2 separate regions of the Homo sapiens genome follow, and region 2 is linked to region 1. Evidence: promoter capture Hi-C in 16 types of primary human blood cells and fetal thymus (Javierre and others, 2016). All regions are on one chromosome and are shown on one strand. Each heading gives the region's core, a stretch centred on a gene start or on the middle of the fragment in contact. The rest is flanking DNA. Distances are from core to core; before and after follow the strand shown. Region 1 overlaps LOC105372066 (a long non-coding RNA gene). Region 2 holds the start of ZNF24 (zinc finger protein 24).

Evidence for each region. Contacts are between HindIII fragments. The CHiCAGO score rates a contact against its expected background, and 5 or more counts as called.
Region 2: a contact is called between the fragment with the promoter of ZNF24 here and a fragment that was not itself captured in region 1, in 6 of 17 cell types (total B cells, naive CD4 T cells, fetal thymus and 3 more). The highest score is 7.7, in total B cells.

What each region holds. Positions count from the first base shown.
Region 1 is chr18:35,946,606-35,953,399 of GRCh38, forward strand. LOC105372066 (a long non-coding RNA gene) reads right to left here. Exons shown (of 4, transcript NR_188032.1): 3 at 6,073-6,194; 4 at 5,198-5,432. Among named protein-coding and RNA genes, the nearest start is that of MIR3929, 16 kb to the left of the region's middle. The HindIII fragment of the contact is 2,468 bases long and covers 1,573-4,040 here.
Region 2 is chr18:35,341,118-35,347,911 of GRCh38, forward strand. ZNF24 (zinc finger protein 24) reads right to left here and starts at 3,303. Exons shown (of 4, transcript NM_006965.4): 1 at 3,243-3,303. LOC124904283 (a long non-coding RNA gene) reads left to right here and starts at 2,937. Exons shown (of 2, transcript XR_007066337.1): 1 at 2,937-3,622; 2 at 5,311-6,794. RefSeq lists an enhancer at 2,621-2,680 and a silencer at 3,361-3,530. The HindIII fragment of the contact is 2,541 bases long and covers 1,097-3,637 here.

The DNA.
Region 1 (6,794 bases), core at 1,557-4,056:
AACAATCCCACAGGACCCTGCTTCTGGGGTCCCAGAGATGCCTTTTCTGTCCCAAGATGCCATCTTGTGATTAGTGACTGTGGCCAACTGTTATCACTCCTCCCCATCCCAGACAGCCATCCCCTTCCTCTGTAGTAAAAAACTCATAACATGTCTAGTATGGCAAAGAGCCCAATTAATGAACTTCACTTCTTGACCATCTGGTATTTGGAGGCGGAGAGCCAATTAATTGTGTTTCGGCACAATTCAGCAATGATTTACTATTTCTGATCATTTCTATAAGTTGACAGGGCTCAACTGGGTGGTTCTTGCATCCCACATGGTATCAAGTGGAGTTTGACTGGGACTGGTACACTCAAGATGGCTTCATACACGTGACTTATGCCTCAACTGGGGTACTTGGAATAGCTGGGGACTGGCTAGGCCTCTCTTCACATAGTTGTTCATTATTCAATAGTTTACTCTGGGCCAGCTGTGGTGGCTCACACCTGTAATCCCAGCACTTTGGGAGGCCGAGGTGGGTGGATCACTTGAGCCAAGGAGTTCAAGACCAACCTGGGCAAAATGGCGAAACCCTGTCTCTACAAAAAATTAGCTGAGTATGGTAAAGTGCACCTGTAGTCCCAGCTACTATCGAAGCTGAGGTGGGAGGATCACCTGAGCCTGGGAGGTTGAGGCTGCAGTAAGCTGTGTTCACACCATTGTATTCCAGATATATATATATATATATTCTAGTCTAAGCTTCTTTACATGGCAGCTGGATCCCAAGAGGGTAAACAGAAGCAGCAAAGCCTAGCAAGGCCTTCCAATACATTCTATTGGTCAAAGCAAGTCATAGGGCCAGCCCTGACTAAAGGAGAAGAGAAACAGACTATACCTCTTGACAGGAAAAAATGACTTAAGCCTACAAAAATTATTGGCAGCCATCTTTGCAGACATTCTACCACAAAATTTAAATGGAAGTTGTTAAATTGTATTCAGCTACCTTCTCCCTTTCTTCCTACTTCCTGCCTAGAACATGAGTGTCATGACTAGAACTTCAGCAGTCATCTTGCAACCACCAGGCAGCCTGAAAGATGAGAACTACACACTGAGGATAGCAGAGAAGAAAGAGAGGAGTCCAGGTTCCTGATGAGCTAGGGGAGCTGCCACACCCACCAAGGACTGCCTATTTACAGAGTGTTTACACATTGGAAAAAATATAAAGCTCTACCTTACTTACATAATGATTATTTGGTTTGTCCATCATACAAAACACAGTGGGCACAGGCTAAAATGTGAACAACTAACAGAAGGAATTTCATAGCCCATAATGCAACATTTGCTGATGCGTTGTATTTTTTAAGAATATAACGAGAAGCACATACTCTGATTAAATTGCTAAGTTCCATTACAGTCTTATAAAATATATTACAGCAAGCCTCAAGCTAAAGGCTTATTGGCAAGTACCTTGCCTCTGAGGTACAAGGAATCCGTTCCTGGGGGCTTATGAGAAAATGTTAGGGGGCTCCTTAATAATTCTGTACAAACACTGCTTGAGAAAATACTATTAATGCCTTTCCGCCAAAACTAAGCTTGAGTACTTTTTCTAAACTCCTCACCGTTTAAGAAGAAATAGCATGCAAAGTTCAAATGAGGTCATCATATCCACCCCCTCCTGCCTCCCACCTAGTTTTTTCATTCAGCAATCAATCCCTCCCCAACAATTGAGGTTCAGTTGCTGTGTCTGATTCATGGAAGAATAACCTGTCTTTTCCTCCCCCTTCCAAATTTTTTAAAACACCAAGCAGTATAGGCAAGTTTTTGTTTGTTTGGCTGGTTGGTTGGGTTTTTTTTGAGACGGAGTTTGGCTCTTGTCACCCAGGCTGGAGTGCAACTGCACGATCTCGACTCACTGCAACCTCTGCCTCCCGGGTTCAAGTGATTCTCCTACCTCAGCCTCCCAAGTAGATGGGATTACAGGTATGTGCCACCACGCCCAGTTAATTTTTGTATTTTTAGTAGAGACGGGGTTTCACCATGTTGGCCAGGATGGTCTCAATCTCTTGACCTCGTGATCCACCCGCCTCGGGCTCCCAAAGCGCTGGGATTACAGGCATAAGCCACCGCGCCCGGCCGGCAAGTTTTAAACCACAAGAATAAGATGTCTTTTCACAGGTGTGCAGAGAAGGACCCCAGAACTGGGTAAATTGAGAAGTGGGACACACAGGTTTTGCAGGCCTGACTCGGACACACAGGTGTGAGCCTGCAACAACAAACAGCTCCTCAACCCTCAAGTACAAGAACAGGGGAAAGAGTGGCATTCTATATTTTTTTGAAAACTAGCTGAACTTGGTCTGCTCTTATTTTACCATTTTCATGTATGGTTTTGCAAATGTTTTACTTGACTTTAGCCTATATTTCAAATTATCGGAATGTTTTATATTCCCATCTATTTTAAACTAGTAATTACCTGTCTAAAACAAATGGACACCTTCTTGAAATAAATGTAATTAGATTATTACTGATACACACAGTATTATTGAGACTAAAAGTAAATAATTTACTGCTTGAACCCGGGAGGCGGAGGTTGCAGTGAGCCGAGATCAAGCCACTACCCTCCAGCCTGGGCAACAGAGTGAGGCTCCGTCTCAAAAAAAAAAAAGAGTAAATAACTTACTGTACTGTTTTGCAACACCTTAGCCCTACAGTCTAATCATTTACACAAAGCATTTTTCTAGAGATTCCACTCTGAATGTTCATCATGGCATAGAAACACAACACTTTGCAACTGATCTCCTAATCCAATTAAATGTTTGTATCTTATTTGGTCATTTGCCAAAACTTGTTGACTATGTGCTGCACACGTTTCTATTTCTACCGTGGTAACCTTAAAACACCAAGGATAACCAGCGGATTCTTAATTAATGACCTCCTCTGACTCCAGTGATCTGTCCAGGGTCATGTCCCACAGATGTCAACCAAGACAGCACTCCTGCCAGACCCATCTGGCTTTATTTCCAGGCAATTTCCTTTTTTGACTTCCCATATGTTTGCTTCTTGTCTTTCTGGTCTTTGCTTTCTGTTCCCAGTCTCTCTAACTCACTGTTTCAGCACACACCGACTTTCTCTTAAAACATCCCTAAAGTGATGGCTGTTTCTCATCATTTGTCCACGCAGTTAACTCAGAACTCAGGGACACTGACCCAGGCCTCCACTGGCTTCAAAACAAAGAGTTTGCCCAAGGTCCTCAAGGAAATTATTAATGCTCAGCTCTAATAAAATGACCATGCTCCCACCCCCTTCCCACACACCGTCTCATTAGCAGGGTTTATTTTTATGGGTAGTACTGTGAATCCACTAGGTAGAAGCAGGTCCTCTCGACGATCCCCTGACGACAGCCCTTGCAGACACGGCTATGCCCAGGCCCATCGCCTGGATCCTGAGCGCGTCTGGCTCTCCACGCCAACCCATTCTGCCCGCTGACTGCTTGAGTCCTAAGCCCGACGACCCTGCCCCAGACCCTGGAGACGCTGGACGCTGGCTCACCTGGATCCCACTCAGACCCGGGCGCGGGCTCACCTGGTCCCCCGCGGGCTTGGGCGTACGCTCATCTGGATCCCACTGGGACCCGGGCGCAGCCTCACCTGGTCCCCCGAGTTCCCGGGCGCGGCCACACTGGGTCCCCCTCCTGCTCGCGCCGCCCTGGGCGCCCCGGAGGAAGCTCTGTGCGGCTGCAACCCTGAGTCCCAGGCGGAGCGGTCAGCGGAGAGTTCCAGCCAACTTATTCCGTGCGCCTCGAAAGGGAGGGTTGCTGGGCGTATAGATATTCTATTTCGCGGGGCCTTTGCGCTCCGAGTGGCCCCTCTAGGCCAGTTCCTCCGAACGCTAATCGGGGGCTCCGCGCTCTCCCCTCGCTTCCCTTTGCTTGGGGAATTGGCAGCGGGGCGCAGGGATCCATCGGAAACGCAAAACTACTTTTTCCCCCTGCTGGTCACTGTGAGGAACTGCACGTGGTGGAACTAACCTGTAAGTAAGGATTCCTTCCCTCTAAGGAGAGAAGCTTGGGGTCTTTCCTCCCCCATCAAAGGCTTCGAAAACTCCCCCTTTTATTCCGTTTCTTTTATTTCAACTGTCACATTAAGAGATAGCAACTCATTTTTAGGCTTCAGATTAATGAGAATAAGTAAAATTAAAACATCCCACTAGAGCGTTTAAAATTTTTTTTCTCTTTTTAAATTATGGAAAATTGCAAACGTGAAAGTAGGCAGAAGAGTATAATGAGGTTCCAGCTTTTGGTAACGGTGGACTAATCTTCTTGCAGATAAAAGTTATACAATCTGGCTGGGCTCCGTGGCTTACTCCTGTAATCCCAGCACTTAGGAAGGCCAAGGCAGGCGAATCACTTAAGGTCAAGAGTTTGAGACTAGTCTGGTCAACATGGTGAAACCCCGTCTCTACTAGAAATACCAAACAAGAGAAAAAAATTAGGTGGGCGAGGTGGTGCACCACCTGGGCGACAGAGTAAGACTCTGTCTCAAAAAAAATAAATAAAATAAAATAAAAATTATACAATCTGAGCAAAGCATTTTTAAAATAATGTGTGAAGGTATTAGAGATTGATCAAAAGAAGGCAGAAACTGTAGGAAAACCACCCTTGAAAAATGAATGAAAATTGTTGGGATTTGTGAGTTTATGGCTTTTGACATGAGGGCAACCCCCAATCAGTGAGCAGCTCCAGCTGCAGAGAGCCATCGCTTGATTGACTTGAAGTGGACAGAAAACAGAGTTTGAGACTAGTAGAATTGGAAAATTGGGGCCAGGAGTGGTGGCTCACACTTGTAATCCCAGCACTTTGGGAGGCCGAGGTGGGCAGATCACCTGAGGCCGGGAGTTCGAGACCAGCCTGGCCAACATGGCGAAATCCTGTCTACTAAAAACACAAAAAATTAGCTGGGCATGGTGGCAGATACCTGTAATCCCAGCTACTCGGGAGGCTGAGGCATGAGAATTGCTGGAACCCAGGAGGTGGAGGCTGCAGTGAGCCAAGATAGTGCCACTGCACTCCAGCCTGGGTGACAGAGGGAGACCTTGTCTAAAAAAAAAAAAAAAAAAAAGGAAAATTGGGAAGAGGTAATTCTAGAAGGGAAGAATATATAGAGAAGTATGTGTCATGTTAGTTTTCTCTTGGCGCCATAACAAATTAACCACAGCTTAATAGCTTAAAACAACACAAATTTATTACGTTACACTTCTGGAGGTACAGGGCTCATTGGGCCAAAATCAGGGTGTTGACAGGCTGTGTTCTCTATAGAGGCTGCAGAGGAGAATCGATTTCCTGCTCACTCGGGTAAGACTGAGTTCCCTGATTTCTTGCTGGCCGTGAGGTGAGGGTCATTCCAGCTTCTAGAGGCCCATGCTGCATTCCTTGGCTTGGGACCTCCTTCCTCCATCTTCAAAACCAAAGCCGGGAACTATCAGTCAAGTTCCTCTCACACTTCAAATCTGTCCTCTTCCTCCCATCTCATCTCTCTGACCCAGCCTGGAAAAGTTCTCCCCTTTTAAGGATTTGTGTGATTAGATTGGGCCCACCTAGATTATCCAGGATAGGATAATCTTCCCCATTTTAAGTCAGTAACCTTAATCACATCTGCAAAATCTCTTTTGCCATGTAAGGTAACGTATTCATAGGTGCCAGGGAATAGGACGTGGACATCCTCAGGTAGCCATTAAGCTGCCTACCAGAATCTACCCTCTGATCCCTCAAATATGTCGCAGCTTAACATCAATAACTATATTAAATATAGCCAGGTGTGGTGACCTGTAATCCCAGCACTTTGGGAGGCCGGGGTGGGTGGATCGATTGAGCTCAGGAGTTCAAAACCAGCCTGGCCAACATGGTGAAAACCCGTCTCTACCAAAAATACAAAAAATTAGGCCAGGCACAGTGGCTCATGCCTGTAATCCTAACACTTTGGGAGGCCAAGGCACGTGGATCACTTGAGGCCAGGAGTTCGAGACCAGCCTGGCCAACATGGTGAAACATCATCTCCACTAAAAATACAAAAAGTAGCCGGGCGTGGTGGCACACACCTGTAATCCCAGATGCTCGAGAGGCTGAGGCAGGAGAACCACTTGAACCCAGGAGGGGGAGGTTGCAGTGAGCCAAGATCATGCCACTGCACTCCCACCTGGGGGATAGAGCAAGACTCTGTCTTCAAAATAAATAAATAAAAGGACTATATTAAACATAAATACACTAAACATGCTAATAAAAAGACAGAGATTGTCAGACTGGATTTAAAACAAACCAAAAACAAGACCTGGTTGTATATTATCCACAAAAGATGACTCTTAACTGCAAAAACATAAATAGGTTGAAAGTAAAAGAATAGAAAAGGATACACTGTGTAAAAAGAAAGAATAAGAAACCTGAGGTGGCCAACAAGCATACAAAAAGATAATCAACATCACTAATCATAAAAGAAATGCAAGTCAAAATCACAATGAGATATCACTGCATACCCACAAGAAGCGCCATCATCAAAAGAACAGAAAATAACAAGTGTTGGCAAGGGTGTGGAAAAATTGGAACCCTTGTGCACTGCTGGTGGGAATGTAAAATGCTGCAGCCATTACGGAAAACAGTATAGAGGTTTCTCCAAAAATTGAAAATAGAATTACCACATGACCCAGCAAACCCCACTTCTGGGTATGTATCCAAAAAACGTCAAAGCAGGATCTCAAAGTGATATTTACATATCCATTTGTCCATTGCAGCATTATTCAAAATATGCAAGAGGTGGAAGCAACCC
Region 2 (6,794 bases), core at 2,053-4,552, 600 kb before region 1:
CATACTTCACGCTACAATAGCAGAGTTGAGTAGTTTCAACAGACTAGATGGCCTAAAAAAAACCCAACACAGTCATGCACTACAAAATGATGTTTGGGTCAATGAAGGACCACCTAGATGACAGTGCTCCCATAAGATTATAATGGAGCTGAAAAATTCAAGATTCACCTAGTGACACTGTAGCTGTTGTAAGGTCAATACATTACTCACATGTTTGTGGTGATGCTGGTGTAAACAAACCTGCTGTGTTGCCAGTTTAACACATACAGTTATGTATGGTACATAAAACTTGATAACAATAATAAACGACTATGTTACTGGTTTATGTATTTACTATACTTTTTATACTATATTATTTTAGAGTGTGCTCCTTCTACTTACTAAATAAAAAAGTTAACTGCAAAATGGCCTCAGGCAGGTCCTTCAGGAGGTATTACAGAAGGCACTGTTATTATGGAGATGACAGCTCCATGTATGTTACTGCTCCTGAAAACCTTCCAGTGGGACAAGATATGGAGGTAGAAGGCAATGATACTGATAATCCAGACCCTGTGTAAGCCTAAGCTAATGTGTTTATCTTAGCTTTTAACAAAAACAGTTCCAAAAGAAAAAAAAAATTGGCCAGGTGCAATGGTTCACACCTGTAATCCCAGCACTATAGGAGGCTGAGGCAGGAGGATCACTAAAGACCAGGAGTTCAAGGCTCCACTGAGCTATGATCACACCACTGCATTCCAGCCTGGGCAACAGAGTATGACCCTGTCTCTAAAAAATGAATTTAAAAATAGCAAAAAGCTGTGCCGGGCACGGTGGCTCAGGCCTGTAATCCCAGCACTTTGGGAGGCTGAGGCAGGCAGATCACGAGGTCAAGAGATCAAGACCATCCTGGCCAACATGGTGAAACCCTGTCTCTACTAAAAATACAAAAATTAGCTGGGCGTGGTGGATTGCGCCTGTAGTCCCAGCTACTGGGGAGATTGAGGCAGGAGAATCTCTTGAACCCGCGAGGTGGAGGCTGCAGTGAGCCAAGATCGCGCCACTGCACTCTAGCCTGGCGACAGAGCGAGACTCTGTCTATAAAAAAAAAAAAGCAAAAAGCTTACAGAATAAGGATATAAATATATTTGTACAGCTGTACAATGTGTTTGTATTTTAAGTGAAGTGTTATCACAAAAGAGTAAAAAAGTTAAAAAAAAATGTAAAAGTTTGTAAGTGAAAAAGTTCCAGTAAGCTAAGGTTAATTATTGAAGAAAAATGTTTTCTTAATAAATTTAGTGTAGCCTAAGTGTTCAGTGTTTATATGGTCTATAGGAATGTACAATAATGTCCCAGGCCTCCAAATTCACCACTCACTCACTGACTTCTTAGAGCAACTTCCAATCCAGCGAGGTCCATTCATGGTAAGTGCCCTGTACAGGCATATCTTTTTTTTTTTTCAAACATTTTATATCATATTTTACTCTTATCTTTTCTATGTTTTGATACACAAATAGTTAGCATTGTGTTACAATTCTCTACAGTATTCAGTACAGCAACATGCCGTACCGGTTTGTAGCCTAGGCGCAATAGGCTATACCAGATAGCCTAAGTGTGTAGTAGGCTACGCCATTTAGGTTTGTGCAAGTACATTCTATGACGTTCACACAAGGATGAAATAGCCTAACATATTTCTCAGACCATAGCACTATCGTTGAGTTATGCATGACCTTATTTACTATATGGCCGCTTACAGAAAAAGTTTGCCAATCATGACCTACTAAGACGACAAACCCTATGTCAATAATCAAAAGAATCCAAGTAAGAACCAGACTACTTCAGTGCTTTCTAAATGTGCCTGACCCTGGAACGCATTATTTCCAATTCAGGATTGGTGTTTCCTGACACACACAAGTCAACTCAAAAGGAAGGTTCGCTTTATTATTATGTGCTTAAAAAAATTTTCTTTACCATTTAAAAAATATTTTTAAGGTGTTTAAGAACTCCTTGGACTTATATGTGAAAAAATGTTCACTTGCTGAGTAGCAGATCACATAATATTGAAAAGATCATATGTGAAAAACATCACATAATTTTGAAAAATTATCTTGCACATAATACGTAAATATTCAGTCTTCCACCACACCATACGTACATTTATATTTATAATGATAGGCATTAATCACAGAAACTTCTATTAAGAAAAGGCACTCGCATAAGCACCTTGACTTCCTGCAGTGGTCCAGTGTCTTGTCCTTACACTGGAGGACTCACAGTTTCCCCAGCTTCTACCTTCAGTGAAACTGTATACTGCTTCTGGACCTTTATTATTTGCACGATCATGCCCGTGCTGTTGTTTACGACACATACTAGCAATGAGCCATTCAGCCTATTTATTTATTCAGGGCCCAAAATCTGAACAATAACAACTTAAAAAAACTTATTGTAACCCAAGCAAGATGAAGACTAGAATCAGAAAAGGCCTTATCAGACAAGTAATACATACTGGTTTAATTAAATACCCTGGAGTGTGGTGGCCTTATACATAAGGTCTAGCCAACATTCATTCGTTCCTATTCCAAGACCCTGCTTATCAACGGTGCAAGTATTTCTACATAATTTTCTCTTCCTTTTATGCTGTAGAGCATACCGCTTGTGGGAAATGGAGGGAAGGCCCACGGTCCCGACAATGTTTGGGCAGGGTACCTCGTCCCAGGTGGATCGCCCACCTTACTGCTGCATAGACCTGCTGTGTATCCCGGCCCCGGCCCCGGCCCCGGCCCGACGTCCTCTAGCCCCTCTTCCCAGCACTCAGGACCGCGGATTTCAGATGACCAAAGGCCACCCTGTGACAACAGCGTCGGAACCACGGCACTTCCGCCTGCGGCCGGTGAGACTACAAATCCCAGAAGCCCCGCGCAAGTCTCGTCCCACTACCACCCCCTCCCATCACGACTCCCAGAACCCTCCGCGAGACGCCAGGGCCTCGAAATAGAACAAAACCGGCCGGTGGGGGAGGGGGAAGGTGAGGGTCTCGGAGGACACAGGGGGTTAGAGAGCTCTCTGCAAATGCCGAAGACCCAAGCAGGCCTGCCGCCTACCCCTCCCCGCCCCACAACTGCTAGGCGCGGAGACCGCGGCCTGTTCCCCGCGCCTCCCGGGAAGCTGAGGAAGGTCCCGGACAGGCTTCCCCGCCGGCTCCTGCTAAGAGGTCCGCAGACCCTAGCCCGGTGTCCCCCCTCCCTCTCATAACGTTCCCCGCACACCGGCGCAAACCTCCGGCTCAGGAACCGCAGCAGCTTCGCTGTCCACGGCAGACGCAGAAACGCCGTTCACAAGCCTTTTCCCAGAAGCCCCCGGCGCGGGCTGCTTCCGGTCTGCGGGCCTGAGGAGGCGGGGAGAGGTAAAGCCCACGTTGCCATGGAGAAGCGCCCCGGGCGGGGGAGGGGCGGCCCCACGACAATGACCGCATTGAGGCTGCGCTTGGCCTCGCGCCTCTCCTCGAACAGCCCAGCGTCCTCTGGACCGTTTAAAAGAAAACATAAAGAGGACTCTACCATTAAGATAGTCCTTACAATTTCGCAAGCCCTTTCACGTGCATTATCTTGTGGATCCTCTCAGTAATCCCCTGCAAGAAGGAATGAAAGTGAGTGTTTGTGAAAGCTTACTACATTGTGCCAGGCGCTCTCGTCGTGCTTTACATGTCATTTTTTTTTCCACAAATAAATGATGTAGGAACTTTCATTATCCCCATTTCACAGCTGAGATAGTTGAGGCACAAATACAGTAAATAACCTGACAAGAGCTCACAACTCATTTGTGGGTAGCAAGATTTGAAACCAAGACGTGATTCAAATCTTTGGCTCCCACTAGTTATGTCATGGAGCTTTATTCCGACCTATTTATCTGTCAGGAAAACTAGATAAGACAGGTTAAGAGTTTTGGCAGTGATGTCACGGTGAATTTGTAGAATGCATGGTCATCTTAAAGCTGGGCATTTTATACCATAAAACAACTGCTGACGCGATCATTTAAAATTACAAATCAGACCACTTCACTCCCCTATTTAAAGCCCTCCAATTTATGTCATAATAATTTATGACATAAAAACTCCTTATAATGGCCTGTAAGTCCCCTGTGGTCTGTTGCCTGCCCGCACCCCCAGACCCTGGCGCCCCCAGTCACCTCAGCTCCTCGGCTCATTGTGGCCCAAGATCCTCAGCCTCACCACCTGCCTTTCATGGCGCATGACCCTTCATGGCACTGTTATTAATGGAAGTGATCTCATTTATTTACTTGTTTTATTTTTTGTTTTGTTTTGTCTTTAAGTCCCTTAAGGGCAGGGACCTTGTCTGTCTTGCTCACCACAGTATCCCATCCTAGATCCTGGAAGCTGACTGCCTGGTAAATAGAGAACTCAATAAATATTTGTTGAATAAATAAATGAATTGTGGGATGGTTACATTGCTGCCTTTAGCTAGGTCACATGATTGGCATCAGACACCACACAAAGGAGCCCTGTTGTTTAAGGACTGGTCAAAAGTGTAGATCCAGCCTAACATAAGCATTTCAAGATCCTCAGGCTTTGACTTTTTGCCTCATTGGAGAAAATGCCCTCTGAAAAGTGCCGTCAGGCTCCGCTGGATTCGTGCATGAGAGAGCAAGTGAGCGAGCAGCTGATGGTATACCACTGCTTTTCATTCCGACCAGAGCTCTTCTCACAACCCCTGCTAACACTTCTCTCCATTGCAGGAAGCTTCAGAAGTACAGCCTTTTCACTCTGCTACTTGGATACGGCCCCTAAGCAACTTGGCTGCTCTTCCCAACCTTTCCCTCTTATCTGATTTGTAAAGGCTAGCTGAAGGCATTTTTGTTTTAAGAGTTTTTACATCTAATTAATGTTGGAAAACAAAAATAATAAATCTGAAACCTAACCTTGAGGAAGTTAAAAATGTTGCAAAATTTTACAAAACCCTTTTCCTGTGATTATATTGTTTGTTTTGTTTTTGAGACAGGGTCTTGCTCTGTCACCCAGGCTGTAGGGCAATGGTGCAGTCTTGGCTCACTGCAGCTTCAACCTCCCAGACTCAGTGATCCTCCCGCCTCAGCCTCCTAACTGGGCATTTTATACCATAAAACAGCTGTTGATGCAATCATTTAAAATTACAAATCAAACCACTTCATTCTCCTATTTAAAGGCCTCCATTTTATGCTGTAATAATTTATCTTGAAATGCTTATGGAAGGCTGGACTTACACTTTTGATAAGTCCTTAAACAACAGGTGTGCTCCACCATGCCCAGCTAATTTGTTTGTTTGTTTGTTTGTTTTTCAGAGATGAGTTCTTCCTATGTTTCCCAGGCTGCTCTCCAACTCCTGGGCACAAGTGACCCTCCTGCCTTGGCCTCCTAAATTGCTAGGATTGCAGGCATGAGCCACCGTGCCTGGCCTCCATTCTATTATTATTAATTATTTGTAAACTACTAAATGGAAACCACAGTAAGGTTTTCCTCACTAAGTTACTCCTTTGAGGGCAGGGGCTACTAACACCCGCTTTGAAACACCATCCTTCTGAGGTCCTCTGGGATTTTTTCCTGAATGGTGGCCCTTGTTGCCATCTTAAAGATCTAGTCAAGATAAAACATGTTCCTCTGGACAACCTGAATGGAGGGAGCAGCTTCATACCCGGGCCTGACAACCTTGCACATATCCACATAGGCCACATAGGCAATGCCTGAACCACAGCTGATCTGAGTCTTGGCAGAACACCTTGGGATCTTCCCAGAAGATGAGTGCATGAGAGGCTTGTAAGCAGCTAGTGCAAGGCCATTTCCCACTCAGCTCTCTGTCTTCCAAAGAGACTATCATGAGGCAGTTTCTATTGCTTCCTGGGTTCCAACGAGCCATTCTGCCTTACCCTCTTAGAGTACAGCTGCAGGTTATAACAAGGCTTAGCTGCAGCATGGCATTAACCCCTCAGCAACAAGGTGTCCACAGTGTATGCTGTAGTCATCCAGCCCCTTCTGTTTTGGTGTCATCATTTTGGTATCTGAGACAAAAGCTCATGGAGAGCTGGCACTTGCTTTTGCTTTCAATGTCTGTGCAAATAATAATATGTCTAAATTCAAAAAGGGTTCATTTCTTTACCAGCCAAATCTTTCAACCTTGCCTTGATACCAAACATCTGATTCATTAATTAATGGTAAAACGAACAAAATGACCAGACAGATACTACCTGGGTACCAGAGATAATAGAGATGAATAAAATGAAGTCATGATTCCGTCTTTGTTTTTCCCTTTAAAAGAGATGAGATCTCACTCTGTTGCCCAGGCTGGAGTGCAGTGGCATAATCACAGCTTGCTGCAGCCTGGAACTCCTGGTAGGGATCCTCCCGCCTCAGCCTTCTAAAACGCTAGGAGTACAGTTGTGAGCCACCATGTCCAGTTTGATTCCTTCTTTTAACATTACCATCTTGTTAAGGAAATAAACAACAACAACAGAAAAAAACAAGTATTCACAAGGCAGTGTAGAAGTGCTACAGTAGAGAAAAGCAGAAGGCCTGTAAGGGCTCCTAAATGAGATAGTGTGCTAAGAGGGAAGGGAGGCACCCTGAAATGGAGGAAGCCAGCCAGAAAAGTTTTCAGGCTGGGCATAGTGGCCTGCACCTTTGGTCCCAGGTACTCAGGAGACTGAGGTGGGAGGATTTCTTGAACCTGAGGGGTTGAGGATGCAGTGAGCTCTGATCGCATCACTGTACTTAAGCCTTGTGGACAGAGTGAGATCCTGATCAAAAAAAAAAAAAAAGTGTTCACACTGGA